Linked DNA regions of Homo sapiens: all the other regions are linked to region 2. Evidence: promoter capture Hi-C in human tissues and cell types (Jung and others, 2019). All regions are on one chromosome and are shown on one strand. Each heading gives the region's core, a stretch centred on a gene start or on the middle of the fragment in contact. The rest is flanking DNA. Distances are from core to core; before and after follow the strand shown. Region 1 overlaps TRPS1 (transcriptional repressor GATA binding 1). Region 2 holds the start of EIF3H (eukaryotic translation initiation factor 3 subunit H). Region 3 overlaps TRPS1 (transcriptional repressor GATA binding 1).

Region 1 (2,884 bases), core at 127-2,626, 1.3 Mb before region 2:
ACAGTATAGTTTCTCCATGAGAAACAATTAGTATGCCGAAGAGCTTATGTCGAAGGAAACTTCTGAAATCACAAAGCCCATTAAGACACAAACTGGCTGTGGATCTAGAAATACTAGGGATTTCAGGGTAAGGAGGGAGCAGGATAAAAGAGAAGGGGGGCGGGGCAAAGAGCTCAATTAACACACAGCCATTTGAGTAGGGACTGCTCTTTTCATGTCCCTCCCATTTTACAAATGCCCAGAGGCATTTCTGCAGTGGAACACCTTTGCAAATTCTAAAAATAAAGCAATAAACTTTAACTCCTCAACTTTCATAATATTTTGACAGATTCTCCCAACTTTAATTTCCTTTTTGTAATGGTAGTGTGATTTGCATTATGTTACATTGCTTCATTTTGCCATTAAAAAAAAAAAGTTAATCTCAAGAGAACTGCTCTGGAAATTATGCGCTACTTTAATAGACATCCCCTCAGAATGGAATAAAAATAATTTTCTCTTTGTAATCTTATCCTGTAATGGTTGGTACGATCTCACCATAGGCCTGTTTTGGAAGCAAGGTTTGAATTTTCTTAAAGAAATTTTGAATGTTATTCTTAGAACAGCTTCTTGTTTCTCACAAAAATCATTTATGTAAAGGGAAGGAGCACACTGATTTATTTAAAATTTGGGGAAATTGCGAACCAAAAAAAAAATGCATTCCAATTTACAAGTTACTTGATTCTGTCATATGAAGTGGCAGTGTCCTTTTCCTTTCCTGCTTAAAAAAGCAGCTCTGGCCTGTGGAAGGCAAGTGGCAAATGTAAGCTTTATGGCAAAACCCACTCAATGATTTAAAAATGCTCCAGGAACACTGTGTTGGAAAGAAATCAGTGGTACTGAGGTGTGAATGGAGGATGCTCTTTAAAGGAAGCAATTTGACCTTTTGTTAAAAAAAAAAAAAAAGTCAGTATCTCTATTTTGCCTTTTGTACCCAAATAAAGCTCATTTATTCTGAACTTTTCTGTGATTTGAATTTCTACCTATTAGGCTTTCCTATATTGCGATATGAGTGTCCAGGAGCCAGGACAGAGAATAAGACACATTTTTTAAAAAGGGATAGGCTAGAAGGATAGCACTGGAAATGACATTAACAGACATAAGGGGAATAACATGGAATGTGATAGCTAGCAAGCTATAAAGTCACTAAGGGGGATGAGACTGACGTTCAATAGGATAAGAAAGCAGTCCTGAACATAAAATTTCTTATCACTACTCTTAGCTCACTGTGTAAATAACCCCACACTTCTAGTACACCTCAAACTTCTCTGCTATCTAAGGAAGGAGTATAATCATTTCTCCCCAGGTTGATCATAACCTGAGCTTCTTCCTATGACTGCAAGAAAATCTCCATAACCTTGGGCACAACAGAGATGTTACCCAAGAGTAGTCCTGCTGTACGACATCAATTAGAATGACTGAGGCAGCCTCCTCCACAGCCTTTGTTTTCTAGATTTTTCGTGCCTACAGAAATTCCCCATGAAGATTCCACTATTCCACACTTCACTGATAAGGAATGACAAACTAGAGCACTGCTTTTGTTTCTGAGTTTCAATTTCCGAAATACGAATAGCATAGTAATGTATGTAACTGTAACTCATCAAGTTCTATATATTTTTTAATTCATATTTTTAAATAGTGAATTTTCAATTATCTTCAAAGGATCATATGCCCTACAGTTTATTTCTGACAAATCATCTGTTTTATTATTTCTGACATCCTTACCTATTCTGCTTAATTAAATGATTTATTTACATAAACGGGATATTTGCTTAATCTAATCCAGGATTTTAAGAGGGAGAAATGCTTTAGGAATAAAAATAATTTCCCTTGCATATATGAACAAACAAATAGTACTTCTGTGTGAAGGTTGATAAAAATTAACTCCCAGAATAAAGTGGAAGCAAAACTGATGAGAGGGACAGGATGGAAAAAGTAGGCAGTTTCCAGCCTTTTGTGAGTCACATATTAACTCTGTGGTTACCGTGTCTCAAGAATTTTCAGGTTACAGATACTCTCCAATGAACAATTAAAACCCTTGCCAAAGCCAAATGTAAACGACTTTGAAAAAAGTTTTATACTCCTCAATGGCAGACACACACACAAAAAACCTGAAGAGTAGAACAGAGTGACTAATTCACCAGCACAGCATTTCGAGAAACAAGTGAACTGCTTGTTATACTGATGTTTTCTCCAATCCTCCACAAAGCATATATGCACACAGGAAGCAATTATAAGCTACAGAACTCATAATACATTTTGAAAAAGGGATATACATAGTACATTACTTGTTTGCCTAAAAGCCATCAGAATTTAAGGCCAGGCATGGTGGCTCACTCCTGTAATCCCCACACTTTGGGGAACTGAGGACAAGAGATCATATGAGGCCAGGAGTTTGAGACCAGTCTGGGCAACATAGATAAACCCCTGTCTCTACAAAACTAATTTAAAAATATCCAGGCATGGTGGTACACACCTGTGGTACCAGCTACTTCGTAGGCTCAACCAGAGGATTGCTTGAGCCTGGGAGGTTGAGGCTGCAGTAAGCCATTATCTTGTCACTGCATTCCAGTCTGGGTGACAGAGTAAGACCCTGTCTCAAAACAAAAACAAAAACAAAAACATACACACACACATGCTGAACCAAACAAAACTCCCAATTGACAAGATGAAACAGTGTGAAGTGGCCTAAGATTCTTATTCACAGTTGCATAACAGGCTCCTTGATCTGCAATATGTTTGGCAGCAATAGCATGAACAGATACTGTGCAAGTTACAAATTAACTAGAACATCATTAACTGGTGCTAAGAAGACAGAACCTGGTGTTATCTTTAGTAAATGGGTAAA
Region 2 (2,910 bases), core at 37-2,536:
TAAGTGATTACACTGTACTACAGGTCACCACATAAACTTTTTCATTTAATCCAAACAACTCTATGATACAGATACTTCTCATTCCCACTTGACAGATGAGGAAAGCAAAGCCTGGAAAGGCTAACTTGCCTTAAAGTCACAGAGCTGGTTAAGTGGAAGAGCCTAGAAGACTGAATGAGCTCTTAACCACCAGGCTACACTCTTGTATCCAGTTTAACTAAGTCAGTTCAACAGATTCAATTATATGCTGCGTTTAAATTATCAACAGTTTCCACTTAAAAATACCTGCTTGCAATTACAATTTTCACATGAATTTAAAAGTACTTTCTTATTACAAATATCTAAGATCTGCATTAATAGGAAATAACCTTTAAAAAAATCAAAGGAAGAGAGGATGCTTTTTAAAAAGAGGGCAGGAAGGATACTTTTAAAACTAGAACGTCATATAAATGCATTTTGCTTCGAAACAACAGAAATAAAATTTCTCATTCTAGATTTTCCTCTTCCCAGCTAAGTCCATTTCCTTATCAAGAATTTCCTTGGATGTCCTAGTTCATGAACCTTAACTACTAAATACATTTAAGGCCCTTCTCTTTGATATTCTTTTATGTTTTTCAGAATGAACACTACAAAAGAGTATTCTAAATTATACGGTTTCAGATAAAGCGCCGAAGTACAGGCTCAAAAGAGTGGCTACAAAGTACATCTCCACTTGGAACGTTATAGATGTCAGATCCCAGCAGGGAATCAGTGGAGTTTCCTTACTCTCTCCTTCCCAGAGCCCTACTAGGTCCCTAAATCCTTCTCGACACCTTCGTTAGCTGCTGGTCTCCAGGAGTCTTTCTTCAAATCCCCCCACCGGTCATCTCAAAACAAGACCCCAGGAACCTGTCACTCACACCCCTATTCTCAGTCCCCTTCCTGAAGCCCCAACTGTCCCGTTAGAAGACAAGAGAAGGCTGTCGAAGCTCCTGAACAAAAAGTGAAGATGAAAGAGAAACGTACTAGGGAAAAACTTTGGCCCAGCCACACCAAGCCCAAGGGGGAGAATGCTAGAAAGTACGTCTGGTGGGACGGGGCTGGGAACTGCGCTCCCCACGTGGGCCAGAGGAAAAAGAACAGCACTCACAAGGCCATCTATCTGCACTTGCTTCACGGCTGAATCTCCCGAGCCGCCTTTGCCTTTGCCTTTCCCTGCTGCGCCGGCGGTGGAGCTGGAAGAGGTGGCAGTAGAGCCGGTACCTTCCTTGCGGGACGCCATCTTTCCAAGCAGACAGGAAGAAAGAGAAACGTGAGTTACCGGAAGCGGAAGTACAAGTCTCGCGTGACGTCACTCGCAGGCCGGCGTTCGAGGGGCGGAGACGGAAGGAGAAGCCAAAATTGGGCCCCGCCTCCCTCCTGTTTTCCAGTTTTACCTTCTTTCCAGGCGGTATCCTTTGTGCATGCCTACTGTACATTTTCGACCTCTTTCCGATGGAATGATCTAAGATGAAAGTAAACTTTTTAAATGTTTAATCATTCACCACTAGGCAAACCGTCATAATAGCATTACAGTTCGCATTATTTCTGTAGTGTCTCTTATGTAAAAATGCTTTCATTTCTGATCTTGCAATGAAGTGCTGTACTAACTCGCATTATGCATATTAGAAAACTGATAAGTGATTTGTCCGACATTATTCTGTTAATTAGCGATGAGCCAGTATTGCACAGCTTGTTTTACGTAATTTTAGATAGCTGCTTGTAACCACTTAGATTATATAGAAATTAAGACATAGAAACTTTTATCAGAATTACCAGAAATAGTAGCCTTTTGCTATTAGCTTCATGTAGAGATTTACCTGAGTAAAGTACCAAAGAAGTTATCTGAGGTATTGTTGAAGGATGATACAGAATATATTTTCTAAAAATCACGCTGATTTATGACACATTACTCTGAAATACACATCTCAAGTCCTTAAAAGAATATATGACAACTGTAAGAAGCCATTTTAGATAAGTAATTTGAAACATTCTTTTCTACTTCCAAATGACTTTTTTCCTATCCCTTATTTTTGAAATGTTTATTCAATAAATATGTATACAGAACTGATGAAATAATTAAATCAATAAACGGCATATCCTGCCCTGAAGTTTTTTGTTGTTTTGTCATTGGGATCTGGTGTTATATTTCAATCTGGGAGGAGAAATAGTTACATGTTACAAATTCTTAACACTACAAAATGAAAAGTTAATATCCACTCATTTCAAGTGTATATGAAATATTTATTAAAATACACCAAACCCTAGGTCACACAGAAAGTCCACAAATTTAGAGGTTTTAAAGGTTGATCCTGGTAAAATTACACTAGAAATTGGTAACAGAACATTCACAAAAAGAAGAAAGAAAATCTCGCATGGAAGAACCAGACTGGAGGTTTTTGCCTACCACTAGGTAGCTGGAATGATGAGCATTAGAAAACAGTGAGGCTACTTATAAACAATAATACATTTATTTATTGCTTTATCCTACAACATACATAACACAGTTTTGTTTCAGAATTACAATACCAATATCCTCATAGCAGTAAAACTACAAAGTAAAGTTTAAAATATTTTGCAATTTTTTTGTCCTTGAAAATATCCAACTAAGGTTTTGCAGCCACGTGTGCTAAACATACTACAATGGGTTATTTTCATCTGTCCTGAGACAGTTCATGTGGGCCCTCTTTATGAAATACACTAGATGTAAGAGGTACAACTGAGAGAGAGAGAGAGAGAGGGCCAGAGAATATGAAGAATTTGAATTAGAAATCAATATGATCACCTTGACAAGAAAGGGCCCAGAAGCATTGACATTTCCGTCACTTCGGTTCCTAATTTCATTCCTATCTCACTGGCTACCTCCTTTATTCTCAGTTCCCATTGCTGATT
Region 3 (2,992 bases), core at 219-2,718, 1.1 Mb before region 2:
ATTTCCTTAAATCACTGAAGGACATAATATCCTCTCCCTACTCCACAATGCCTCCCCATGCCTGCCTTTAGAAGTCTTTGCAACGACAAAATGATGTGCATGGAGTTTTAAGCTTTTAAAAGACACAGGTCTACTGTTCAAAACTGTTATCTGTCAGTGTTGTTCGTGTTCACAGGAATAAGCAAATCATAGTACTAATATGAACACGCATAAAACAGCAGGTCTTTGGGAAAAACCCTGGAAATGAATTGCTGGTAACTAACACACCTACAGTACCAATGCCTGTATCCAGTATGTGTTCCAAAGGACTGAAAGCAATACAACTTTACCTAATTTTCTCAACTCCTAACGTATCCGTAAGTGTTGAAGGGCGTAGTCTATGTTCAAATTAGGAGAGGCTCTTGGTTAGAGGTAAACTGAAGCGCTGAAAACTAAGTTTTGGATAATTACAGTTCAAGATGTAACACTCTCATTTATACCCACTCTCCCTTATATAACAGGTAAGCCTCTGAGGTTCAGAGTCTGACAATGGAACTTCTACATTTATTCAGGTATTTGGCAGCCAGCAGGTCGGAAGCAATTCAATTGCTTAAACCTGATTTTACTACCTAACTTGGGGGTGGGGAGGTGTTGCAGGGAACAGTCTGGATTCATATGTATCTGGTTTTCTGTTTTGGAATATAACTTAAAATATTTTTGAAGAAATATGGTAAAGTGATTATCCTTCTGGAACTAGATACACCGACACTGTCACATTAACTCACAGCTTGTTAAATACTGTGCAATCTTTCTATAACATTCTTTGTTATGAGACTAGAATCAGCATATGGGAATTGCTCTTTTCCTGCTAAACTGAAGTCATTACTAACTACTCATCTGTGACATGTACTCTTTCTTGTAACCAGGGATTTTAGCTTCACAAAATTTAGAAACTGCCGCATTGTTTCTTGGCATTGCTTTCAAATGTGACATCATTTAAATTTTGGAATATTCCATTTTAGCAAATACACTAGTGGGTGCCAGGTTAAAGATGACTGCCCAAAAAGGGGCAGCAGCGTCTCTGTAGGGAACAACCACAGATTATTCTTTCAACCTATACCATCCCACGCCTTTCACCAGAGGCATACTGAATTACAATGAGCTCAATAAATACATTTCAAAAATGGGTTATCAAATTACCAGCCTATAGCAATGGCTTCCAGTCACTGAAGACCTATATTGAAAAACAACTGTGATATATGGAAATGAAAACTCCATTTTCATTTGGGAGGCCAGGGCAGGTGGATCACCTGAGGTCAGGAGTTCGAGATCACCCTGGCCAACATGGTGAAACCCCATCTCTACTAAAGTACAAAAAATTAGCTGAGCATGGTGGCGCATGCCTGTAGTCTCAGCTACTCGGGAGGCTAAGGCAGGAGAATCACTTGAACCTGGGAGGCGGAGGTTGCAATGAGCCAAGATTGCACCATTGCACTCCAGCCTGAGTGACAGAATGAGTCTCCGTCTCGAAAACAAAACAAAACAAAACAAAACAAAACTCCATTTTCAGTTTTCCTAATTTCCAAAGTCTAAAATATATGTGTAATCCCAGCACTTTGGGAGACTGAGATGGGAAGAATTCCTTGAGGCCAGGAGTTCAGGACCAGCCTGGAAAATACAGCAAGACTCCGTCTTTACAAAAAATTAGAAAATTAGCAAAGGCATGATGGCTTGTGCCTGTAGTCCCAGCTATTTAGGAGGCTGAGGCTGGAAGAGCCCTTGCGCCCAAGAGTTCAAGGCTACAGAGAGCTATGATCGCACCACAGGACACCAGCCTGGGCAACACAGCAAGACCCTATCTCAAAAAAAGAAAAAAAAAAGAAAAGAAACCTGTGTGTATATATATATATACACACATACACATTCAAGACACTACATACATAATAGTCATATATCCGATATGAATCCAACAGAAACACACAGATGGACCTACTGACTCCTTTATTGCTGAGCAAAAAAATAATACAGAACTGTGTTTAAATGACAAAGATGACAGAAAATCAGTATCATTCACAGCCTCTGAAAGTCTTATTTTGGAAATTTTTGTATGATTTCTAGAACTTCTTCCATTATTTAAAAACTTACATAACCAAAAGAGTAATTCTAATCATCTCATCAATACACTCCATAAGCCTCCAATTATGAAACTTGTGAATTTTATAATCCAAATACAATTCAATAGCAGCACCTGCCAACAAAAATTTAAAATTGGTACTCTCAATTAGGGACACCTTTTCTATCAAAAAATGACTCCAAAGGTGCATGGTAATTTCTCCTAGAAAATATGAATGACTGTGTCAGTGTTTAAAAAAATGCTTTGATAATCTAACCCCAGCAAAAACATTAGTAAGTTTAATCATTTTTATTATTCCCCAAAAAGACATATTTGGTTAATGTTTTTATCTGATAATAAAAGCATGCTTACTTCGTGAAAAAAAATATATATATATATAAATATATATATTTAACGTTATATATATATAACACCTCGGAGATACTACACCTCGGAGATACTACAGATTCAGTTTGAGACTACTAAAATAAAGTGAATATTGCAATAAAGCAAGTCACAAGAATATTTTGGTTTCCCAGTGCATATAAAAGCTACATTTACATTACACAATGGTCTATTAAGTGGGCAATAGTATTATGTTTAAAAAATACACTTAGTTAAAAACATTCTTTATTACTAAAAAATACTAACAGTCACCTGAGTCTTGAGCAATTGGTAATCTTTTTGCTGGTCTTGCCTCATTGTTGATAGCTGCTCAGTGGAGGTCTTTGCTGAAGCTGGGGGTGTCTATGGCAATTTCTTAAAATAAGGCAACAATGAAGCTTCCCACATCAACTGACTCTTCTTTCATGAATGATTTGTTTGTAGCATGCAATGCCACTTGATAGCATTTTACCCACGCTAGAACTTCTTTCAAAATTGGAGTCAATCATCTCCAAC

Evidence for each region. Contacts are between HindIII fragments. The study calls those that stand out against the background at their distance.
Region 1: a fragment that was not itself captured here is called in contact with the fragment with the promoter of EIF3H in region 2 in 1 of the 25 tissues and cell types used here (dorsolateral prefrontal cortex).
Region 3: a contact is called between a fragment that was not itself captured here and the fragment with the promoter of EIF3H in region 2, in 1 of the 25 tissues and cell types used here (dorsolateral prefrontal cortex).

Annotation. Positions count from the first base shown.
Region 1 is chr8:115,466,505-115,469,388 of GRCh38, forward strand. All of the region lies in intron 5 of TRPS1 (transcriptional repressor GATA binding 1), which reads right to left. Among named protein-coding and RNA genes, the nearest start is that of TRPS1-AS1, 42 kb to the right of the region's middle. The HindIII fragment of the contact is 5,538 bases long and covers 1-2,884 here.
Region 2 is chr8:116,754,537-116,757,446 of GRCh38, forward strand. EIF3H (eukaryotic translation initiation factor 3 subunit H) reads right to left here and starts at 1,287. Exons shown (of 8, transcript NM_003756.3): 1 at 1,130-1,287. The coding sequence starts at 1,261. The HindIII fragment of the contact is 13,175 bases long and covers 936-2,910 here.
Region 3 is chr8:115,640,373-115,643,364 of GRCh38, forward strand. The region is part of intron 1 of TRPS1 (transcriptional repressor GATA binding 1); the gene reads right to left. Among named protein-coding and RNA genes, the nearest start is that of TRPS1, 27 kb to the right of the region's middle. The HindIII fragment of the contact is 5,413 bases long and covers 1-2,992 here.